2 separate regions of the Homo sapiens genome follow, and region 1 is linked to region 2. Evidence: promoter capture Hi-C in human tissues and cell types (Jung and others, 2019). All regions are on one chromosome and are shown on one strand. The core of a region is centred on a gene start or on the middle of the fragment in contact, and the rest is flanking DNA. Distances in the headings are between cores, read along the strand shown.

What was found. Contacts are between HindIII fragments. The study calls those that stand out against the background at their distance.
Region 1: a fragment that was not itself captured here is called in contact with the fragment with the promoter of GLI3 in region 2 in 1 of the 25 tissues and cell types used here (H1 embryonic stem cells).

Annotation. Positions count from the first base shown.
Region 1 is chr7:42,100,655-42,106,197 of GRCh38, forward strand. All of the region lies in intron 3 of GLI3 (GLI family zinc finger 3), which reads right to left. Among named protein-coding and RNA genes, the nearest start is that of GLI3, 130 kb to the right of the region's middle. The HindIII fragment of the contact is 6,829 bases long and covers 265-5,543 here.
Region 2 is chr7:42,235,812-42,241,480 of GRCh38, forward strand. It overlaps GLI3 (GLI family zinc finger 3), which reads right to left and starts at 1,398. Exons shown (of 15, transcript NM_000168.6): 1 at 1,160-1,398. RefSeq lists an enhancer at 1,142-2,123. The HindIII fragment of the contact is 7,383 bases long and covers 1-5,669 here.

The DNA.
Region 1 (5,543 bases), core at 2,429-4,928, 130 kb before region 2:
TCACTTGAAGCCAGGGGGCGAAGGTTTCAGTGAGCTGAGATTGCACCACTGCACTCCAGTGTGGGTGACAGAGCAAGACTCTTTCCAAGAAAAAGAAGAGGGGGTGGGGGTTTGTACACAGACACACCACAGGAAGACAGCCATGGAAGAGAGGCAGAGAGTGATGCTGCCATGAGACAAGAATTGCCTGGGGCTTCCAGAAGCTGGAAGAGGCAAGGAAGGATCCTCCCTTAAGATTTCAGAGGGAGGATGGCCCTACCAATACCTTGATTTTGGACTTTCAGCTTCCAGAACTGACAGATAATAAATTTCTGTTGTTTTGAGCCCCCAGTCTGTGGTACCTTGTTCTGGCAGTGCTAGCAAACATACACACCTGGGTTTCCTTACAATTTTGTTTTGGGAAGGCCGCCCTATACCAGTGACTTTTGAAGAGGCTACATTCTCTTCTCCTGTGAGTAGGAGTAGCAGTAAATATTGACAAGAAACAAAGAACCTAACAACCCTCAGAAGAGCTGAGAAGAGGAAAGCATGTGCAGTATGCCCATCGTCATTTTCTGGCTGTGAAGCATCTATTCCTTCTTCCCACAGAACTCTGATTTCCTTTGCAGAATTAACTTCTCTCCTACTGTATTTAGGCATTCTGGGGTGATAAATAAAAAATCCAGGACTGGCGTGGTGGCTCCCGCCTGTAATCCCAGCACTTTGGGAGGCTGAGGTGGGAGAACTGCTTGAGTCCAAGAGTTCGAGACCACCCTGGACAACACGTCAAGACCTGGTCTCTACAATTTTTTTTTTCTTTAAATTAGCCAGGTATGGTGGCATACACCTCTGGTTCCAGCTACTCATGAGGCTGAGGCAGTAGGATTGCTTGAGCCCGGGAGGTGGAGGCTGCAGTGAGCCATGTTGGCACCACTGCAGTCCAGCTTGGGCGACAAAGCAAGACTCTGTCTCAATTTTTTTTTTTAAATGTATAATTGCTTTAATATGCTGCTGAATTTCGTTTGCTAGTATCTTTTTATTTATTTATTTATTTATTTTATTATTATTATACTTTAAGTTTTAGGGTACATGTGCACATTGTGCAGGTTAGTTACATACATATACATGTACCATGCTGGTGTGCTGCACCCACTAACTCGTCATCTAGCATTAGGTATATCTCCCAATGCTATCCCTCCACCCTCTCCCACCCCACAACAGTCCCCAGAGTGTGATGTTCCCCTTCCTGTGTCCATGTGATCTCATTGTTCAATTCCCACCTATGAGTGAGAATATGCGGTGTTTGGTTTTTTGTTCTTGCAATAGTTTACTGAGAATGATGGTTTCCAATTTCATCCATGTCCCTACAAAGGACATGAACTCATCATTTTTTATGGCTGCATAGTATACCATGGTGTATATGTGCCACATTTTCTTAATCCAGTCTATCATTGTTGGACATTTGGGTTGGTTCCAAGTCTTTGCTATTGTGAATAATGCCGCTGTAAACATACGTGTGCATGTGTCTTTATAGCAGCATGATTTATAGTCCTTTGGGTATATACCCAGTAATGGGATGGCTGGGTCAAATGGTATTTCTAGTTCTAGATCCCTGAGGAATCATTTTTTTAAAAAATCCATGAGCCTCACTGCCCAAGACAGCCAGGGTACCTGGCTCTGATAGCAGACGGCCTCTGCTGAAAGCCTGAGTCCTGAGCCTGAGTTGGGGGAAGGAGAAGCAGTCAGAGCTCATTCCCCCAGGGAGACTCTCACGCCTGCTTCCTATGCCTCTACAGCACCTGCTTCTCGAGATTTTCTGACAATTTTAAGACAATTCTATGTCATCCCAGCAATTCCTGTTGGTGCAAGGGTTGGAATCAGTTTCTGTTGCATGTAACCCAATAGCCCTGGCTGATGCAGGAGGAAAACCTCAACAGCCCAGCCACCGAGCAGCTGTACAGGCTGGGTGTGCACTTAACTTCTTGGGCTTCAGTGCCTCACCAGGCAAGTTACACCAAATCTCTTCCCATGCCTAGGATTAGAACATTTATGATTCTAAATGTTTCTGCTATAAGACGTAAATTATCTAAGGCTCAGACATGGTGAGCTGAACTGCAGGTGAACAGCAATCCTGCTCCGGCTTGTCCCTAAGTCAAGCAGGGTCATTTGAAACTTTTGTCTTTAACAACCCCCTGAATACAAGGATATGGGAGTGCCATCTCAGTTCGCCGGTCACACTGGCGCAGAAATGCCTAATTGTGGCATATTATAACATACAGCAAACTCAAAGCTTAAGACGCTTTGAACTCCATTCTGCAGATAGATGCTGAGTTAATCACAATTGACCTTCCATGTAGCAGGTGAAAATAGTGAACATGTACTAACTCACACTTTTGGAGGGTAGAGAATCCGGAAGCGGCTTAGCTGAGTGGCTCCGGCTGAGGGTCTCTCAGGAGGCTGCAGTCACCTCAAGGCCTGACTGGGGGAGAGTATGTTTCCAGACTTGGCTCCTCCCCATACAGCCTCTCCACCAGCTGAGTGTCCTCATGGCATGGCCACTGTCCACCCCAGAGTGAGGGATTCAAGAGGGAGGGCAAGAGAGCCACCTGAGTCACAGTCCTTTTGTAATCTAATTTTAGAAGTGCCATCCCATCACTTCACTGGAAGTAAGTCATTAAGGAAAGAGGAAGGAAGTCCCACCTCCTGAGGGCAGGAGTATCAAAAACTTGTACACATGTCCTTAAACCCCCCACAGTGCCATAAATAGCTGAACTTTTTATCCAATCTCCGATTTATACAGTGACATGATTCAAAGATCAAATGTATCTTATTAAAAAAAAAAGCAGGACTAGGAGGCAAAAGACTGTGGCTTTGATTCAAGTTCTGAAAGCAGCTCACTATGTAATTGGGGAACCAAGATAACTGATTCTCCAAGATACTTAGGGAACCTCTCTGCAACTATTTCTTCAGCTATTACACTTTGGCCAAGTGCTATGCTTAACACACATGACCTCACCCAGTCCTTTTCACATTCCAGTGACGTAGATATCTGAATCCTCATTTCTCAGCTGCGAACACTGAGGCATAAAGACACTAAATCACCTATCCAAGAGCACCCAAGATAACCCAAGATAAGGAGTCAGGATGGGGCCCTAAATCTGTCTCTCAAGCTTCAGATGTAGATTGGCATGTGAAGAGACTCAGAAAAGAGGAAAAGGTAGAAATAAAAGTGCTACAATCTGATAATGCATTACCATGAACCATAAATAATAACAGAGTTAATAAAAGAAGTGAGAACAATAGTAATGATGGTGCTGATGATGATGTTAGGCATGTGGGTGTCACGTGAGGGGCCAGCTGACTTTCTAGTATTCACTGTGCATCTCTTTCCTTGACTGTTCACTGTATCTCTGAGGACGATGTGCTTTGTTTGGTGCCCTGTACAAGTATATGAGCATACTTACGGTCTCCACTTGAAGAAGATGAAAGCATTGAAAAATAAAATGGTGCCAGACAGTTAGGCCAGTAGTTAGGAATCTATCATCTTCAGTAAAATCCTGAACTTCACTTCTCCAAAAGTCAACATTAGTCTAAATTAAAGATGTTGTCAGAAAAGAAGATAATGCATCACGTAAAACCTACCTAGACATACTGCGTACCCAACATCCTTCAGTACCCAGTTCAGTCTCCTGTGAAGACGCCCTGACATCTGCACCCTCCAGCCTTGTTCACACATCCGCTCTAGCATTTCCCACTTCCCATCTCTACAGTGGGTAAACAGGCAGGGCGGGAAAAATGTCTTACTAATCTTTGAATCCCATAAACACAGCAAGGAATCTGGCATAAAGTAGGCATTTCCAAATATTTACTGAATCAATGAACCACTCCTGAGATTACTATGTGTAATGGGTGTGAGATTATGAAATCATCATTTAATAAACACACATTTCTGAGATTCAAACTCTTGGCTTAAAAAAGGTTTAAAGATGGATTGATTCAGGGAAACATTTAAAGTTACAACATTGCTATAGACTGAATATATTCTTCTAAAATTCACATATTGAACTCTAATCCCCAATGTAATGGTATTTGGCAGTATGGCAACTGGGAGGTGTTCATAAGGGTGGAGCCCTTATGAATGGGGTTCCTTTTAAAGAGGCCCCAGAGAACCTATTGGCCGTTCCACCACGTGAGGACACAGTGAGAAGAAGGCCATCTATGAACCAGAAGACAGGTCCTCATCAGACAACAAATCTGCTGGCACCTTGATCTGAGACTTCTCAGTCTCCAGAACTGTGAGAAATAAATTTCTACTGTTTATAGGCCACTCCATTTATGGTATTTTGTTACAGCAGCCTGAACAGATTAAGACTGTGATACTGCCAGGAACTTTGATAATTATTATCTGAATTTATCCAAAGAAACACTGTGAAATTGCCTTCATTTTACAGGTGAGGAAACTGGGGTTCAAACAGAATAAATAATCTGCCCTGGGTCCTTCATGGCCAGTCCTGAAGCCGTGTGTTTCTAACTCCTGGTCTGACATGTGCCTGCTACTGTGTGCCCTGAATTCAAGTGGGCAAATTCAGGAAGGCACACTGAACTTGGCTTGATGTGGACTGATAATCAGGTACTAAATGGCTGCTTCTTTTTTTTTCTGTTTCATAATTTACACCCAGATTTGGAAAGATTTGGAAGCAGATTACATCTTTATCACCCAAAGTATGTTTTCAGAAAGAATCTTGTTTCTGAGAAGCATAAATTTAGTTTCAAATATTTATAAAAATTACTCTAAATAAAAGCAAAACTCCATGAAAAAGAAAATGCACTGGCATAGAGAGAAAAGCGAGAAGCGAAAGGAAGTAAGAGGAAAATGAGAGATGGGGAGATAGGATGACGCCGTGGGGAAGGAGAAAGAAAATCAGGGAAAGATTTAAAAAGAAGATAATATGTACTTAAGTTAATCACAGATGATAGAAAATCTTTTCAGGAAATGTACATCTGAATTTAAAAACAGCATTCTTTAGTTCCACTTCATCAAGCAAACAGCAGAATCTGCAAGGTGTGAATCCTCCCACTTAGGGCTGGGCCTTAATAGACTGTGTGTGTCCAGTGCTAGCCTCGGGGGAACCAGCTCTCCATACACATCTGTTGAATGGAAATCAATTTTCCTCAAGCAAAGAGGCAGCTCTGTCTCTCGTAAACAAGCACCTCCACGTCTGCAGTCACATAAGACTGATTTTAATGAGCGGGGTGTGAGGTCACGCCCGAGGTACATCCGCTTATCCAAGGGGCCCAGACACCCCACCAGGAAATCAAATTTCTCAGTACATACCTCAATGATGAACCTTCCTTTTAGCCCCTAAAGGTTTCTCTCATCCTTTTTGCATTTGGTTTTTGGCCAAGCAGGCTGGAAAGTATAAAAGCCAAAAGAGGCAGGGGTGGAGCAGCCGGGCAAGCAGGAAGAAGCATGTGTTTTCTGGCCTCCATCTCCCCAGCAGTTCCAGCATGTTCCGTAATTGGGCAGCCTGGCCTCACCGTCCAACAGGCATCCTCATGCAGCC
Region 2 (5,669 bases), core at 148-2,647:
TGGAAAATGTGGAACAGCTGGCAAAGAGCTGGGAGAAAATGTTTTACATAAATATATGTACATATAAACTGGCAGAGGGCCATGAGCACTGTACCCAAGGCCAGAATCTACCCGGCAGTCTGCACTGGGGAGATGAGAAGTTGGGGCAGGATGACCAGCGGCGGAGGGAGCCTCCTTAATCCTCTTTCCACGCGGGGTCAGGCAGGGAAGCCTGGGGTGCAGCGCCTCTCGGGGGACGGCATCTTACAGAAGGAGGTGCAATGGGGGACAGGAGCACAAAGTTCAGGAAAGGATAAAAGGCCGGGTGCGGGGTGGAGCGTCCGCTTCGGACAATCTGCTTAAAAGTCGCTTCACAAACTCTGCAAGTTTGGGATCAATATTTACACCCTCTCTGCCTTCTCCCGCCCGTTTTCCCGCTGCTACTCAAGAAAGTAACTGTCCCCTGCTGCTCTGTGTAAACGCGGCACCTTAAATGATTATTGCATGGACCACGGTTACTTTGTGTGTCTGTGCGCGCTGCCCCTGGAAAGGAAAAGAAATAAGAGAATCCCAAATCATATACAGATGGTACAACTTTCACTTTTCCTCTATGACGACGAAGGCGCGCCTCTCTCCATCCGCTCACACCACACCCCCGCCCTCCGAAGCATAGCCCGGGCTGGAGAAGCCCCAGCGGCGGCGGCCCCCGCGGCGGAGGTCCCCGCGCGCACCCACCATGCCTCCCGCCTCCTTCCGCCCATCCCGAGCGCCGTGCGCGCCCGAAGCCCGAGCCGTAGAGCGCCACCGCGCAAAGGAAGGAGCCAGGCGCGTGCGGGGCTCGCGGAGTTCTTCTGAACCCTTTGGATGGGGGCGGAGGCGAGGGGCGCCGCCACCACTGCGGCAAACTTCGTCCCCCCTCCGGGAGGTGAAATTCTCCAATCCGTCTCCGGCCGGTCCGCGGGTCGGACTCTTCGGAAAGGACCTTCCAGGAGGAGGGAGCGAATGCAAGCCTTGCTCGGACGCCTCACCGGCGGCTCTCTAAATCTGGGCGCCTTTTGACAGCCATTTTCACTCCATCCCGTCCCCACGCTGGGGACCACCTCTGGCCCCGGAGGCGCGGGCGCGGCCGCAGGAGCGGGCTGCGGGGTCCGCGAAACAAAGAACTTCGAGCGGGACGTACCTGCGGCGGCAGCGGCTGTCAAGTCCCCGAACTTCCCATAGACCCGCGGACGGGGCGCAGGCTGGCGGCTCCCCGCTCCGCGCGGCCGCGGGCGGCTACGGCTACCGCGAGCGGCCGGGCTGGGCGCGGGGTGCGCCCGCCGCGGGCATGGTGCGGCGCGGGCGGCCGCGGGGCGCGCGGGGAAGGCGGGAGAGCGGCGCGGGTGAGTGGGAGCGGCGGGTGTGCGCGAGTGCGAGTGTGCGAGCGCGCCGGTGGCGCTGCCCCTGCCCGCTCCCTCCCGCTCGTGCAGCTCCGGCATCAGTTTCGGGGATCGTGTAATCCGATCCCTTCTGACTCACAAGCCCTGAGTGACAGTTCTGATTTGGTTCAACCGCGGGAGGGAGGGGAAAGAGAAAGAAAGAAACCCCCAGCCGTACGCCTCTCCTGGCATCCAATCGACTTTCTGGAAAAAGGTCCCATCCCGGCCTGGTGCCCCGTGCTGGGTGGAGAAGCCCCCCGCCCCGACCTGGCACCGCCTGCACTACTCACGGGGTGGAAAAGTTGTCCCTCGGCTCCGCGCTCCCCTCCCGCGCGCTCCCTCCTTCCCTTCTCTCCTCCTCTTCCTCCTCCTCCCCGCGCTCCTCCTCCCCCAAGTTTTAACAGATGTTGCCGGACTCTCCTCGCTCCCTCGCACTCTCTCTTCCTCCGCCCCGGCCCCCGCCCAGTCCCTTTTCTTTCAGCCACTCTCGGGCTCGGAGGGGACGCGCTGAGCAGCAGGACGCCTGCCGCCGCAGGGGGCGAAGTTGGGAAAACTTGGAGTGCTGCTCGCCTTACTTTTGCTTTCTCGCTCCTTCCAGGCCGCGCCGGGAGCCCCCGCTTCTCCCGCCCGCCGGGTCCCCAAGCCCGGAGTGGGTCCCAGCTGCGAGGCGGGCGGCGGCGGCTGGGAGGCGGCGCGTCGCGGGCCGGGGTCGGGGGCTGGGGGGGAGCCCGGGCGCCGCGAGCCACGCGCGCGCTCCCTCCCCGCCCTCCGCCGCCGCCGCCGCCGCCGCCGCCGCCTCCTCCTCCTCCTCCTCCTTCTCCTCCTCCTCCTCCTCCTCCGCCCCTCCCCGGTCTTCACACAGACACATTCATGCCTGCTCCTCCTCTTCCCCCTACTTGACCCCGCGCCCTCCCGGCGCGCCGAAGCCCCACCCACCCGGCGAGGGGAAGGGGGCCCGGGCGTGATGTCACCCGCGCCCTCTCTCTTCTCTCTCCACACCGCCAGGACACCCCCCAAATGCGCGCCCTGGCACTCGTGCTGCGTCCTGTCTGCTCCCATCTTCTCCCACCCAGCCTCTCTTTCTCACTCTTGCTCAAGGGCTGGACTCCCCTTTATTCTTTTAAGGCTTCTCTGATTACCACCGCCCCCCATCCTTGGCTCCCCATCTCCTTGTTTTACATTTTCCCAAAGCCATCCCCGAAACTCCCTCTCGCGGGATGATGCCTTTGGAAGTTCAGGGTTTTTCTCTCCACCGGACTCGTCTGCCCTCGGGGCCAAATCCGCGAAGCGAGGAGGAGCTCCCACCACACAGCCTGCTGTCCCTATGGGCCACTTTATAAAAGACACAAAAACAAAGACCCCAGGCTTGGAGCCTGGTCTCTAACGTGCCGCTTTTCCTTGAGCTACAAAGTGTCTCTGTCCCTGCTTCATTTTCAGAGGCCCATGCTAGTAAAAGTTATTTGGCCTCCTTCCTCGACCATCCAGTCCTTGTTCATCTGCGTCATTTTAATATATCCAACCTGGACATGTAACTTAAAAAAGGAGTTCTCGGGGGGAAACACAGGAAGAAAAAGAAAGAAAAGAAAGCCCCTGTGACATTCCAACATCCCCTCTTTCTGGTTAAGCCGGGTCCACCCAGCCAGAAGTGCCCCGGAGCTCCGGGTTGCTTGTGTGGCGTTGCCGCCAAGTGTCTTGACTGAAGGAAGAGTGTGGGTGGATGAATGATGAGCTATTAGAATTTGAAGAGCATTTTGAGATTCAAATGCTTAACTGAAGAATCTTTTAACGAAATTGAGGGTGGTATTCATTGTTTGTTTCTTGGGACTCCTTCCTTGTCACAATGACATGACAAGTGCAGAGACAGACTTAAGGTTTTATGGTGGAAGTGGTGGAGGTAAGGTGGGGCTAAAGGCCCTAGTTAGCCATTTGTTTTAAGATTTCCCTCGACCTCACGGCTCAGGAAAAAACAAAACACCACTGACTCATCGCAGAGAGCACGAGACTCAGAAGCCCTGTGGCAGCCCCATCTCCGCGCTCACTAACTGGCCTCAGGCCTGGGAGGATTCTCTGAGCCTCCATAGGCTCTGAGCCCATCTAGGGGATAGTGTTAGGAGTGCCAGGTCGCGTACCTCCCAGGATGGCTGAGGGTTTCCAATGAGAAATACATGGAAAAGTATAGAGGGCTACAAGTGTGTAAGAATTATGCTTTTACAATTGAAGAGAATTGCAAGCCACTCTTTCCTTTATATACTCCCAGCATCAGTTACAATTGTTTTTAGTATTCATGTACTGCTTCTGCCTCAATCACATGAATACAAATAGTACATCCTGATAGCCTACTCTGTTCACCCAATGGCAAAAAATAAATACAAAGAAAGACAGCCAATAAATCATCAAATAATAGAATAAACTAGATATTTCGACTCTTACTTCAGTCTTATAGCACATTTTGAATCATGAAGATCTTGATTTTTCAGTTCTTAAAAGACAAGAACAAAGCAAAAGCAGCTAATCTTTCCCCCTATGCCCGTCACAATAGCTAAACAAAAAAGAGGAAGAATAATGCTGTGTCTCTTATGTGTCCAACTCTGCTTTAATGGTAAACCCATACATATAAGTAGGCACATTTTGCAGAAACAGTGGAGGGGTAAAAAACCCACTTTGCCTGAGTGTGGGTTAAATAATGTCATAATGCAGTGACTTTCTCTCTGTGTTAACACCAGAACGCTTTCCAAATTAAATCTTACGTAGAATCCCAAAATATAGAAGAGTTATTATGGTTGAAATTGGAGTGAGGTCTCGGAGCCCAATCCCCCTAAGCCTTTCTCTCTTTCCCTTTCCTGCAGTTGCTCCTGAGACATCTGTAAAAACCCAAAGACACCCAGAAAGACAATGCTACAACCTTTGTTTGTAGTGATACACAGCACTAAGAGACTTACAGGATTCTGTGCACTGCCCTTCCTTGATGTCTGAAATTCTATCATAGATTGACTTATTGCCATCTCTCATCAGTTCTCTTTTCAAATGCAGATATCTTAAGAAATTTTAATATAGTAAGTCCTCAGAATAGTTAAGCTTTTAAGACAGACTTTCTTTCTTGTTGTTGCAACAGTGAAGTAGGAGATACTTGAAGATACTTGCATTTGTTTTCTAGGGCCATGGTAACAAAGTACCAAAAACTGGATGGCTTAAAGGACAGACATGTATTGTCCTATAGTTTCTAGAGGCTTGAAGTCCAAAAGTAAGGTGTCTTGCAGGGCCACACTCCCTCTGAAACCTGGAAAAGAAATTTCTCCCTTGCCTCTTACTGGCTTCTGGTGGTGGCTGTCAATCTGGGTGTCCCGTGGCTTGCAGCTTCTCCCTTTCAGTCTCCACCTCTGTCCTCATATGGCATTCTCCCTTTGTCTCTGGCTTCTCTTCTTATAAAAGCACGAGTTATATTCTGTTAGAGACCCACCCTACTCCAGAATGACCTCATCTTAACTAATTACATCTGCAACAAGCCTGTTTCCAAGATCATATTCTGAGGTTCCTAGGGTTAGAACTTCAACATTTTCTTCTGGGGGACATAATTCAACTCCTAACAACACTGCAAAAGATAGTGGGAGAGGAATGAAGGATACGCAAGAGAGAGAACAAAGGATGAACCTGGAAACAAACTTCACGTGCTCCTCTGATTCCTACCATGGGCCGATGTTATACAAATACTTTTCTCCCCTCACTTACCATGGCAGTTCTTCCATCTCCCTGCACAGTAGCACCCAGTTAATTATTGGAAAATTCCAGGAGGATAGTCCATGTGTACTAATAAACTTCAAGTTGCATGGGACAAAATTCCACCTCCAATTGACTTAAGTTAAACTTCAGAGGGATTGGGTGGCTGTTTTTATTGACAAAAAAGTCCAGAAACATGTAGGCATGCTTTAGGCAAAACAGGATCTAGGGGCTCCAATAACGTCTACTGGGTTCTGTTTTCATCTTTCGGCTCCACTTTATTCACACTTCATACAAAGTTTCTTTAGGCAACCGAGGAAGGTGGCCAGAGGCAGCTGCATTTTCATAATCAATCTGAGAGTTTGCATTCCCAGAAAATAATGACCTTTCCCAAGTGGATCCGATATTCCCCTTGGCCAGGCTCACCTCTCTAGGTTTCCTCCTGCCCACTCTGCTTTCCTGGGTCCTGGTGATTTTGCGTGTTCTGCACACACTTTGCCAGCCAGCCTGCATGTAAGGAAAGTACTAGGGAACAAAGGTAGATCCCTGGCCACATGA